Regions from separate parts of the Homo sapiens genome. Here region 2 is linked to region 1. The links are contacts of gene promoters, found by promoter capture Hi-C in human tissues and cell types (Jung and others, 2019). All regions are on one chromosome and are shown on one strand. Each heading gives the region's core, a stretch centred on a gene start or on the middle of the fragment in contact. The rest is flanking DNA. Distances are from core to core; before and after follow the strand shown. Region 1 holds the start of GAL3ST2 (galactose-3-O-sulfotransferase 2). Region 2 overlaps ING5 (inhibitor of growth family member 5).

Region 1 (5,869 bases), core at 1,626-4,125:
GGCCTGACAGGGCTGGGGTCCTGTTGGGTTGTGGGCAGGTCCTCAGACGGCCTCCTGGCTCCTGCCTCGCCCCTCCCCACAGGCCCTGTGCCAGCGGCTGTGCAAACAGAGGCCAGGAAGCGAGGTGATGCTCCCTTTGTTTCTGGCAGAGTGTGTGGCACCTGGAGCTACCTTCCGGGTTCCATGGCCCTGGGGCCCTGGGGCCCTGGGGACAGGGAGGGAATGGGATGCACAGCGGCCAGGGGTGTTCAGCGTCACCGGTGGAAGGGGTGAAACCTGTTCTTCCTGGTGGTGAGGGTTTGCCCCTTGACTCCGGAAAGCAGAGACCGTGGAGCAGGGCCCACTTCAAAGCACAGTGCTGGGGGCTGTGGCCTCGGCCCTCTGTGGACGTGGGCGGATGGGTGGCCCTGGACTGGTGAAGGACTGGCCGGGAGTTCTGTAGGGCCCCCACCTCCTGCCAGCGCCCAGCCCACAGTCGACCACTGCCTGCCCGGGGCAGGAGACTTCCTTCCTGCAGCCCCGGACCCGGGATCTGAGACCTAGAAGCTGACTCCATCCTTTGACTGCTCTGTTCTGAGCTAGGCCACCCCTGCCCCTGCCCCGAGGTGGCCCTGGGCTTGCCCGCCCGCCTGCAGTGTCGGCTGAAGAGGGTAACGTGCGTGCGCCCCGGCTGCTCCCGGCTGCTCCCGGCTGCTCCCCGGCTGCTCCCCGCTGCTCCCGGCTGCTCCCCGGCTGCTCCCCGGCTGCTCCCCGCTGCTCCCGGCTGCTCTCGGCTGCTCCCGGCTGCTCCCCAGCTGCTCCCCACCGGCCTTGGGTCTGGTGGGTGTGGCCCTCCTAGTGGGACCAGGCCACACACTGGAGCACATGGGCACGGCAATGCCAATGCCGATGGAGGCGGGTTCCTGGGCATGTGGACCTGTCCCTTACTCGAAGCAGCTGAGGGGCCTCCAGCCAGCCCCGTCCGCACCCCAGGGGTTAGGGCTCTGCCATGGGGGCGTGGGCATCTGCTCTGACAAACAACGTGTGCATTTGATTGGTGTTCCTGAGTCACCGTGGACCAGGCAGGCTGCCAGAGCGGCTGATTCTTAGCGGGGAGCTGGGGCCGGGCAGACACCCTGACTCCCTGGGGCTCCCAGCAGGGCCCCACTGGCAACAGGCAGCCTCCTCCCTCTGGCCGCCGGGCCTCCGTCCCTTTCCCAGCCTGGGGCTGGGACCACCGCTCCACACCACACTGCACTGCCCTTGTCTGCCCCAGCAGGGGGTGAAGGTGGCTGGTGGCTGAGGACCCCCTGCCCAGGCCCACACTTCTTGCTCAGGCCCCATAAGTCACTTGGGATCTGGAGAGCTGGGGACTTTGACCTGGGAGGGAGGCATCTGGTCGTGACCCTCAGGCGTGTGTAGGGAGGTGCCTGGCCGTGACCCTCAGGCGTGTGTCCCTGGCAGGTTGCTCTCCACCGGCCCCACCGTTTGTAACACATGGCTCGGCCAAGGTGATTCTGGGGTAAGGACCCATGAGGCGCCATCTTCTTTGTTCCTAGGCTGAGCCTGTGGTGCCCTGGGCAGGGTGGGTGGAGGAAGCAGCAGGGAGGCTCCTTAATGGTGGAGTGAACACCCACACGGATGTCTCTGGATAGTGGAATGCGGAGGATGCAGGGCACGCCGGTGGAGAGCTGCCCAGCCGTGCCAGCAAGGCCCCGGCATCCCTCCCACCTGCCGTTAGCACCGGGAGCTGCTCTGCTGGCCCCTCCCACAGACTCGGGCTCTGGAGGTCTACAGAGCAGCTGGGAGGGTGATGCCTAGGCGGGGGCGGAGATGCCAGGCCCCTGGGCTGCAGGTGGAGGTAAATGGGGAAGGGAGGCTGGGGGTCTCTGGGCCTTTCGCCAGCAGCCGCCCAGCCCAGGGTCTCTGATGCCAGGGAGGTCCATGTGTGCTCGGCCCCTCCTCTGAGCCCCTCAGCCCAGCCTTGTTTCTGCCTCCATGGCTATGGGGCCTGCACCCATCCGAGCCAGGCACTGGCTAGGGCAGGGAGGCTGCCTTGGGCTGGGGCCAGTCCCGGAATCCAGGCTCAGCTGGCACCGACAGGGAGGGGTTGTGGGAAGGTGACCAGCCGTGTGGAGAGCTTGGCGTCGGAGGGCATGGTGGGCACCAGCGCTGGTGGGATGTGGCGAGGGTGGTGGTGACTCATGGCGCGTGGCCCGTAGCTCTGAGGAGCATTTGCGTTTTCCTGTGGATTCACTGTAGCGCCTGGTCACAATGTTGCAGCATTTCCCTGGCTGCTTGTCTCGGAATTAATATCTATTTCCTGAAAAGAGAAATGAACTTTCTTGCAGTAAAATCTAAACAAATATTTATATTTATTTTCCACCTCCATGTCCTGTTTCAAACTTATTGTCCAGCCCAAGATTTTAAAAAGTCAGATTTTCTTTTGGTGTGAAGCAGGCTCAGGAGGAGGAGGAGGGGGAGGAAGAAGAGGAGGACGAGGAGGGGGAGGAAGCTGGGAATTGGGCTGAGCTTTCCTCGCTCATCCTTGCAGTGGCCACAGGGCCCTCTGCCCTCTCGTCTGCGTCAGGTCCTGAGTTCTGAGTCCAGAAGCCGTCGCTGTGCTGTTGGAGCCCACCAAGCCCGTCCCTTGTGGGGACAGCTCCCTCCAAGCCCCCCGGGGGGATGGACACTGAGGGTGGGGCAGGGGAGCAGGGGTAGGCCCCAGGCAGGTCCTCCCAGGGCCTGGGGAACACAGGGGCCCATCGAGGGCTCCCCAGACTCCCTCAGCCAGTTCTTCCCGAGAACAGAACAGTTAAAACCAAGCCCTCCGATGGAGGTGCGGGGAGAGGGCGTGGCTCCCGTCCCAGGAGGCAGGTGAGCTTCTGGGGATTCCAGTTCACCTGCCCCACAGCCGCACCCTGCCTGTGCCTGCACCCTGGGGAGCCCAGAGCCGGCAGGGGCCGAGGCGGTGGGACCTCGGGGGAGCTCAAGCCTCGACTGTCCCCTCGCTGGAGGCCAGAGGCCAAGATGATGTCCATGCTGGGCGGCTTGCAGAGGTAAGGGGGGCAGTTGGACCCCCCAGGTGGACAAAGCGCTTCATCTGTGGCTATTCTGAGAGACGGACAGGAGTGGGTTTTGTTTGTCTTTCGAAGGAAGTGACTTGGATTTGGAGGCTGTTCCTACTCAGGCTTCCCTGAATTCACCTGTCTTGGCTTCGTTTCGGAAGTAGGGGGCCCCTCCTGCCCAGGCCTGGTGCTGCTTCTGGGTGTTTGGGGGTTCTGGGATGTGGGGCCCAGTGAGAAAGCTGCCCCCCAACACTGTGGCGTGGAGACGCTCGAGTGTCCGCGTGACGGCTGGGGAGGGTGAGACCTGCTGGGCTTGGGACCTCCCAGCCTCGGTCTGCGGCTCAGGCCCATGGCTGGGCCGTGTTGGTGGGAGTGCCAGGCGCTTGCTGGAGCGTTGGTCATGCGTGCGCTTCAGGATGCTCCCGGGGCTCTGGGTGGTGACGGGGAGGCTGGGCTCTGCTGTGCTGTCTCCCTTCTGTAAACAGAGGGGAGGTGGATTTCTTCCCAGTTAGGTTTGGAGGGGTGGTGGGTGTGGCTAAGGATGCCTTGCGTTTTCCTTCTCCTGCTCGCCATCCTGTTTGGGGTGATTCCAGGGCAGTTTGAAGCCGTCCCTGCGCTGGCAGGTCCCTGCCTCCCCGGGGCGTGTGCCGCCATGAATTCAGTTACCTTCCTTTAAGGGGTGACTTAAGACCAGCTGCCAGGACACTGGCTGAGGACACCCCGTCACAGGGCTGAGAGGTGTGGGGCCGGCTGCCTGGCCTGGACCATCCTAGATGCCCCCTCCTGTGGACATTGTGACCATATTGTGAAGAAGAGGCCCAGGGGCTGGGGAATCAGGCTCACTTGATTAGCTGGTGGCCAAGCTAGGGCCCCCCTGGCTGCCCTGGGGCCCCCCGAGGTCGGCCAGGGCGGGTGTGCCTGACCCCAGCTGAGACTCTGTGGGTGAGACATGGGAGGCATTGCAGCCGAAGGCCCTCGGGGAGCCCAGGGCACAGGCTCCTCAGCTGCTGGTCTCACTGCCTGGCAGGATGGGCTCACTGCAGCAGCCCATGCAGGCTGCACGTCCCACACTAAGGCCAGGGAGCTTTGGCTCCGGGTGTCCCAGGCTTCATTGAGCACGGCCTGCAGGAGGGAAGCCCCGAGTCACTTCCCCACAGCCCTGGACAGCAGCCTTCCTGAGCCTCGCATTTATTTTCCTGGGGTTGGGCAAGTGTGGGAGGCTCACCTCGCTTGTGTCAGCTTGCTTGGCCTGTGGGTGGAACAAATCAACAGCCCTGGGGACAAAGGGGACGGTAGTGTGTGGTGCCACTGGCACCCACCTGGGTGATTCAAGGAGCTGCCCAGAACAGAGGAGAGACTTTGCCTGCGCTAGTGAGGCCTAGTCTTGACCACCGGCCACGGGAAATCCAGGCCGCCGGGCAAAGTGCTCACTTGGATGCTTGCTGATCTTTTGTTTTGCTGGTGATGATTCAGGCACAAAACTCTGAGCTATGGCACTTGGGGGTGTTGCCTCCCTGGGGTGTGGCCAGGTATCTTTGGGGAGGAGGGGACTCATGATCAGAGAAGATGTGGTACAGAGCCCATGGGGGTCACCATGCCGGTGTGAACCCCCAAAATCTGAGACAGGTCTCGGTTAATTTAGAAAGCTTACTTTGCCAAGGGTGAGGACGTGCACCCATGACCCAGCCTCAGGAGGTCCTGATGACGTGTGCCCAAGGTGGTCAGGGCACAGTCTGGCTTTATACATTGTAGGGAGACATGAGACATCAGTCCGCATATGCAGGACGAACATTGGTTCGGTCTGGAGAGGCAGGACGGCTCGAAGCAAAGGCAGGAAGACTCCAAGTGGGGAGGGGACTTCCAGGTCACAGGCAGGTAAGAGACAAATGGTTGCATTCTTTTGAGTTTCTGATGAGCCTCTCCAAAGGAGGCAGTCAGATACGCATTTATCTCAGTGAGCAGAGGGGAGACTTTGAATACAATGGGGGGCAGGTTTGCCCTGAGCAGTTCCCAGCTAGACTCCTCCCTTTAGCTTGTAGTGATCTGGGGGCTCAAGATCTTTTCCTTTCACATTTCCCCCCATTTTCTCTTTAAAATCTTGGAGAAAGCTCTCCAAGATTTTAGAAGAAAATGAGTCTCTGGTCCCAGGTTTTGTCTTATCTCTCATGGCTAGGATAGTTTATTTCTAGACGGGCAGGTCCTGAGTTACTAGGAAAGCTCATTTTTTTTTTTTTTTTTTTTTTTTTTTTTTTTTTTTTGAGACGGAGTCTCGCTCTCTCTCCCAGTCTGGAGTGCAGTGGAGCGATCTCGGCTCACTGCAAGCTCCGCCTCCCGGGTTCACGCCATTCTCCCGCCTCAGCCTCCCGAGTAGCTGGGACTACAGGCGCCCGCCACCTCGCCCAGCTAATTTTTTGTATTTTTAGTAGAGATGGGGTTTCACCGTGTTAGCCAGGATGGTCTCCATCTCCTGACCTCGTGATCCGCCGGCCTTGGCCTCCCAAAGTGCTGGGATTACAGGCGTGAGCCACCGTGCCCGGCCCTGGGAAGTTCATTTTTTAGCAGGTTGTGAAGTGTCAAGTCCTAGGAAGACAAAATAGGAGAAGGAAGGAGAAAAACAACAACAAAGAAAAGAGCAATCCTGGAAAATCGATACAGGCCACACTACTCTGAAGTCCAAACATCAGTAGGCAAACATGAAAGTGGCTTATGTGGCCGGGCGCGGTGGCTCACACCTGTAATCCCAGCACTTTGGGAGGCCGAGGCGGGCGGATCACCTGAGATCAGGAGTTTGAGAACAGCCTGACCAACATGGAGAAACCCCG
Region 2 (5,869 bases), core at 1,299-3,798, 60 kb before region 1:
ACAGACATGCGCCACTATGCCTGGCTAATTTTTTGTAGAGACAGGGTTTCATCATGTTGCCCAGGCTGGTCTCAAACATCTGGGCTCAAGCAGTCCGCCTGCCTCAACCTCTCCGTGTGTTGAGATTACAGGCGTGAGCCACTGCGTCTGGCCGTCTTGATCTTTTTAGAGAACTAGCTTTTAGTTTCATTATTTTTATTGTTTTCTCTATTTTTTTGTTTGCTATTGCATTTGTTTCTACTCTCTATTTCCTGTTTTCTACTCAGGTTTACTTTGCCTATACTATTCTAGCTTTTTAAGGTGGAAGTAGCTTGCATAATTGATTTTTATATCTTCCTTGTTCTAATTATTATCTTTGTTGCACTCCACAAATTTTGATATATTATGATTTTGATATAATTTTGATATTGTTTTAAATTTTTATTTCGTTTACCTATTTAAAATATTTTAGAATGTTTTTCTTGTTTTTTGAGATGAGGTCTCACTCTGTCACCCAGGCTGGAGTGTAGTGGCATGATCCTGGCTCACTGCAGCCTCCACCTCCTGGGCTCAAGAGATCCTCCCACTTCGGCCTCCCAAGTAGCTGGGACCACAAGTGCATGCCACCATGCCTGGCTAATTTTTTATATTTTTGGTAGAGATGGAGTTTCACCATGTTGCCCAGGGTGGTCTTAAACTCCTGAGCTCAAGTGATCCACCCACGTTGGCCTCCCAAAGTGCTGGAATAGAATTTTTTTTTTTTTTTTTTTTTTTTTGGTGAGACGGAGCCTCACTCTGTTGCCCAGGCTTGAGTGCAGTGGTGTGATCTTGGCTCACTGCAACCTCCACCTCCCAGGTTCAAGCAATTCTCTTGCCTCAGCCTCCTGGGTAGCTGGGATTACAGGCACGTATCACCATGCCTGGCTAATTTTTTTTTGTATTTTTAGTAGAGACAGGGTTTCACCATGTTGGCCAGGCTGGTCTTGAACTCCTGACCTCAGGTGATCTGCCTGCCTTGGCCTCCCAACATACTGGGATTACAGGCGTGAGCCACCGCACCTGACCTAGAATTTTTTTTTTCATGCTACTTCTTTGCCCTATAACTTATGTAGAAGTATGTGTCTCAATTTCCAAATAATTTGGGATTTTTCAGATACCTTTCTAATTTTAATTTTTTAGTTGACTTCTGTTGTGGTCAAAGAACATTACATAATTGAAATCCTTTGAAAGCCAGCTAATTTTTGTATTTTTAACAGAGACAGGATTTCACCATGCTGGGCAGGCTGGTCTCGAACTCCTGACCTCAAATGATCTGCCCACCTTGGCCTCCCCTCCCTGTAAAGTGCTGGGATTACAGGCATGAGCCACCGCACCCGGCCTTCATTGCAATATTTGGTCTGTTCATATTTAACATAATTAATGATATGGTGGGATTTAGGTTCACCATCTTGCTATTAGTTTTCTGTTTGTTCCTTCTGCTCCTTTGCTGTCTTCTTTTGGACTAATCAGGTATTTTTTAGTATTCCGTTTTTTTCCCCACTCTTGTCTTATTAGCCATGCTTTTTTTTTTTTTTTTTTTTTTGAGACGGAGTCTTGCACTGTTGCCCAGGCTGGAGTACAATTTGCAATGGCATGATCTTGGCTCACTACAACCTCTGCTTCCCAGGTTCAAGCGATTCTCATGCCTCAGCCTCCGCAGTAGCTGGGATTATAGGTGTGCGCCACCACACCCGGCTAATGTTTTTGTATTTTTAGTAGAGACAGGTTTTCACCATTTTGGCCAGGCTGGTCTCGAACCCCTGACCCCAAGTGATCCACCCACCTCGGCCTCCCAAAGTGCTAGGATTACAGGCGTGAGCCACTGCCCCGGCCCCTGTATTTTAAGGATTGTTCTAGTGTGTGCACTCAGTTTCCTTAAGTTATCACAGTGAGCTTCAGATATTACACTATTTGATGTTTAACGTGTGGCTCCACACAAGTGTTCTTCCATTTCCTGCCTTTGTGCTGTTGTCCTTCACTTTGCCTGTGATCTGAGCTTCCCAGCACGTTATTACCTTAGATGCAAACCACTGATGACGTGAAACACGCCTTAAAATATATGTGGAATGTAAAGATGTTGAACTCACAGAAGTAGAGAGTAGAATGGTGGTCAGGCGCTGGGGTGGTCAGGGGAGACGTTGGATACAGAATTTCATTTAGATAGGAGGAATAAGTTCAAAAGATCCGTTTTACAACATGGTGACTACAGTTAATAACAATATAGTCTCAAAAAAATGTGTAGATTTTAAGTGTTCTCACCACAAAAGTCACCCCATATATAGTTACCTCATATAGTTGCCATTTCTGGTAACCTTCATTTTTTTTTTTTTTTGAGACAGAGTCTTGCTCTGTGTCCCAGGCTGGAGTGCAGTGGTGCGATCTCAGCTCACGGCAACCTCTGCCTCCCAGGTTCAAGTGATTCTTGTGCCTCAGCCTCCTGAGTAGCTGAGATTACACCCACCTACTCACCTGGTTAATTTTTGTATTTTTAGTAGAGATGGGGTTTTGCCATGTTGGCCAGGCTGGTCTCGAACTCCTGGCCTCCAGTGACCCTCTCGCCTCAGCCTCCCAAAGTGGCAGGATGACAGGCATGAGCCACCGCGCCTGGCCCAACTATTATTTCTTAATATTTATTTTCTTTCTTTAAAAATTTTTTTTCCATACATATTCTGCTTACGTATATTTCTTTATGTGGATGCAAATTTCTGTCTTGTCATTTCTCCTCTACTGAAGAACTTTAACATTTTTTGCAGTACATGTATGCTGATGGTGATGAATTCTCTGTTTTTGTTTCTCTGAAAATGCTTTTATTTCACTGCGTATAGAATTTTAGGTTGACCTTTTTTCTTTTATCGCTAAAGATGTTCTCTCATTTTCTTCTGTCTTTCATTGATTCTGATGATAAATTACTGATAATAATTATTTTTGGTGGTTTCTTTTTTTTTTTTTGCTTTTAAGATTTCTCATTGTCACTGGCTCTTAACAGTTTGGTTATGATGTGTATTGGTGTGATTTTTTTGTGTATATTTTGCGTGGAACTTGTTGAGCATCTTTGAACTGTTGGTTTATACTTTGCATCGAATTTGGAAAATTTTCAGACAGTTCTTCCAGTATTTTTGTGCTCTCCTTTCTCCTCTTCCTGCTGTCCAGCTCCCTGTGCGTTCCTTAGCTTAGATTTTCTCACAGCTCACCGAGGCTCTGCTTACTTTCTGCAAGCTTTTTTCTTTCTGTACTTCAGTTTGATTTGTTTCTATTACTTTATTTATTTATGAGACAGGTTCAGGCTCTGTGGCCCAGGCTGGAGTGCGGTGGCGCAATCTCCGCTCACCGCAGCCTCTGCCTCCCGGGTTCAAGCCATTCTCCCGCCTCAGCCTTCCAAGTAGCTGGGATTACAGGTGAGCGTCACCACACCCGGCTAAGTTTTGTATTTTTAGTAGAGTCGGGGTTTCAGCCTGTTGGCCAGGCTGGTTTCAAACTCCTGGCCTCAAGTGATCCGCCCAGCTCAGCCTCTCACCTTCCCTTTCCTTCTTTCTTTCCTTCCTTCCTTTCTTCTTTCCTCCCTTCCTCCCTCCCTCCCTCACTTCCTTCCTCCTTCCCTCCCTCCCTCCCTTCCTCCCTCCCTCCCTTCCTTCCTTCCTTCCTTCTTTTCTCTTTCTGTCTTTTTTTTTTTTTTTTTGAGACGGTCTTGCTTGGTCACCCAGGCTGGAGTGCACTGGTACAATCTTGGCTCACTGCAAGCTCCGCCTCCCAAGTTCAAGCGATTCTCTGCCTCAGCCTCCCAAGTAGCTGGAATTACAGGCACGTGCCACCATGACTGGCTAATTTTGTATTTTTAGTATAGACAGGGTTTCACCGTGTTATGCAGGCTGGTCTCGAACTCCTGGCCTCAGGTGGATCTGCCTGTTTTTGGCCTCCCGATGTGCTGGGATTACAGGCGTGAGCTGCTGTGCCCGGCCCTAAGTTAGTTTTAATCTCCTTTAATACATTTTTCATTTAAGAGATTGTAGGGCTGGGTGCTTTGGCTCATGCCTGTAATCTCAGCACTTTGGAAGGCTGAGGTGGGAGGGTCACTTGAGTAGCCGGGATCACAGGCATGTGCCACCATTCCTTGGTAACCAGCTTTTAAAAAAACATAATCAGTCCTATTTCCCTGCTGAGGGTACATGTCTCATGATTTATTAGCTGTCTGACTTTAGATATAAAGGAAGCGTGGAGAGGGAAATTTCTGTTCTCCCCAGGAGGTGTTCGTTCTGTTTTAGTCCAGGCCAATAGGGCTGGGGGCCTGGGGCGGGGCAGGGTCTCAGCTTCAGCTCCACCGAGGCCCCTTGAGGACCTTGAGGTTTCCTCTCTCGCCTCCTGCCCCAGCGGCTTCCACAGTTGGTAGAAGTGCGGGGGAGGAGACCAGCGGTGCCCGAGCAGACCCCTTGCTCGAGAACTCCGAGGTTGCAGGGATTTTCCCTCTGCTTTTAGTTGCTCTGTGCAGCCTCTGGACTATAAATGTCGGTGGGGACGCGGCCGCCATGTGTGGCTGTGTGGGCTCAGCGTGGCCCAGTGGCCAGCCCAGCCCTCACTCAGTGCATGAGGCAGGCGGACGCCGCCCCCAACCCCCCAACACCCCCCACTCTGGCTGCAGGTCATCTAGCTCTTGTTGCTCCACAGCTCCCCGACATCTTTGAGAATGTGGTTTTTGTGACTTGCTGGGTTTTGTGTTTTCTAACTCAGTGGCAACAGCGTTCTGAGTCTTCCTGCTCCTTCCTGCTCGGAACCTGAAGGCCCTGTCCCGACCGTGCCTTTTCTGCGTGAAAGTGGGACTCCTCCTGGTCTCTTCCTCACCCAGTGCTGTTTCTCAAGGGTATGCTAGGCATAAGGAATGCAGGCACTGGGGGTCCTCGTGGGGGTGAAGGAGACTCCAGCTCCCTGTTGGGGTCGGGGCTTCCTCCCTGAGGGCTCTGCCCAGCTTCAGAGACCTCAGGAACAGCCAGCACCTCTGCAAACACAGGAAGATCCACTGTGGCCTCATGGCTTTTCCTGTCCTGACAGTGCGCTGACCAGCACTGTTTAGTAGCAATGCGGAGCCTGGGAGCTCAGCGCTGCCTGCCGTGCAGGTCCCAGTAGTGACAGATGAGAAGGGTGATCACCGATGGCGACAGTTGCGGGGCCCTGCGGCTCTGGATCTAGCTTGTGTGTGAATCTCTTTCTTCTCTGTGCCCCCAAGTGGCAGTGCTGCTCCTGTCCCATTGCAAGACGTCGAGACAGGCTGGTAAGGCCAGCTCTGAAGCTGGGCTCTGACGTCCAAGGCGCCAAGGAGGCCCCTTCCAGAGGGACAGGAGGATGGTGCAGGTGGGCAGACGGGTCATCCTGAGGACCAGTCGGTTGGACCCAAAGCCTGGCCTGCCGGGGCGGGAGTGTGCACTCGGGTGCCTCCAAGGGCATCATCCTGGGTGTGTGCAGGAGCCCGCCTGCCCCTGGGCTCTGGAGTTCTGTGGTGCGCGTCCCTGACCCATCAGCACAGTGGGTATTCACGCCCCTCGTGGTCACGCTGTGGTGCCAGGCCGCTCTGCCTCAAGGCAGGTCCTGTTCCCTGCTGGGGACCCAGGCGCACGCACCATCCTGTCCCTGTGGACTGCCCTCTTCAGGCCTGTTCCCCACGTGCCCGGGGCTCTTCCTGGAATGCAGTGTTCCTAGACTGCACAGATGCTCCGTGTCTCGTCTGAGATCCCGTGACCTGAGGCTGCCCCCTGCACTGTTGCTGCCCTGTGGCCTTGCTCTGGCGAGGCAGAACCTGTGTGTGTGGATGAAGGGCAGTGTCACCTGTAGCACCTGGAATCCCGGGGCTTGGACAGGCAGCCAG

The links. The method cuts DNA at HindIII sites, captures the fragments that hold promoters and counts their contacts. A contact is called where the count stands out against the background at its distance.
Region 2: a contact is called between a fragment that was not itself captured here and the fragment with the promoter of GAL3ST2 in region 1, in 1 of the 25 tissues and cell types used here (mesendoderm cells).

The regions. Positions count from the first base shown.
Region 1 is chr2:241,773,947-241,779,815 of GRCh38, forward strand. GAL3ST2 (galactose-3-O-sulfotransferase 2) reads left to right here and starts at 2,876. Exons shown (of 4, transcript NM_022134.3): 1 at 2,876-3,038. The coding sequence starts at 3,010. RefSeq lists enhancers at 1,068-1,688, 2,930-3,550, 3,551-4,171, 4,172-4,791. The HindIII fragment of the contact is 16,655 bases long and covers 1-5,869 here.
Region 2 is chr2:241,714,743-241,720,611 of GRCh38, forward strand. All of the region lies in intron 5 of ING5 (inhibitor of growth family member 5), which reads left to right. Among named protein-coding and RNA genes, the nearest start is that of ING5, 16 kb to the left of the region's middle. The HindIII fragment of the contact is 9,714 bases long and covers 1-5,869 here.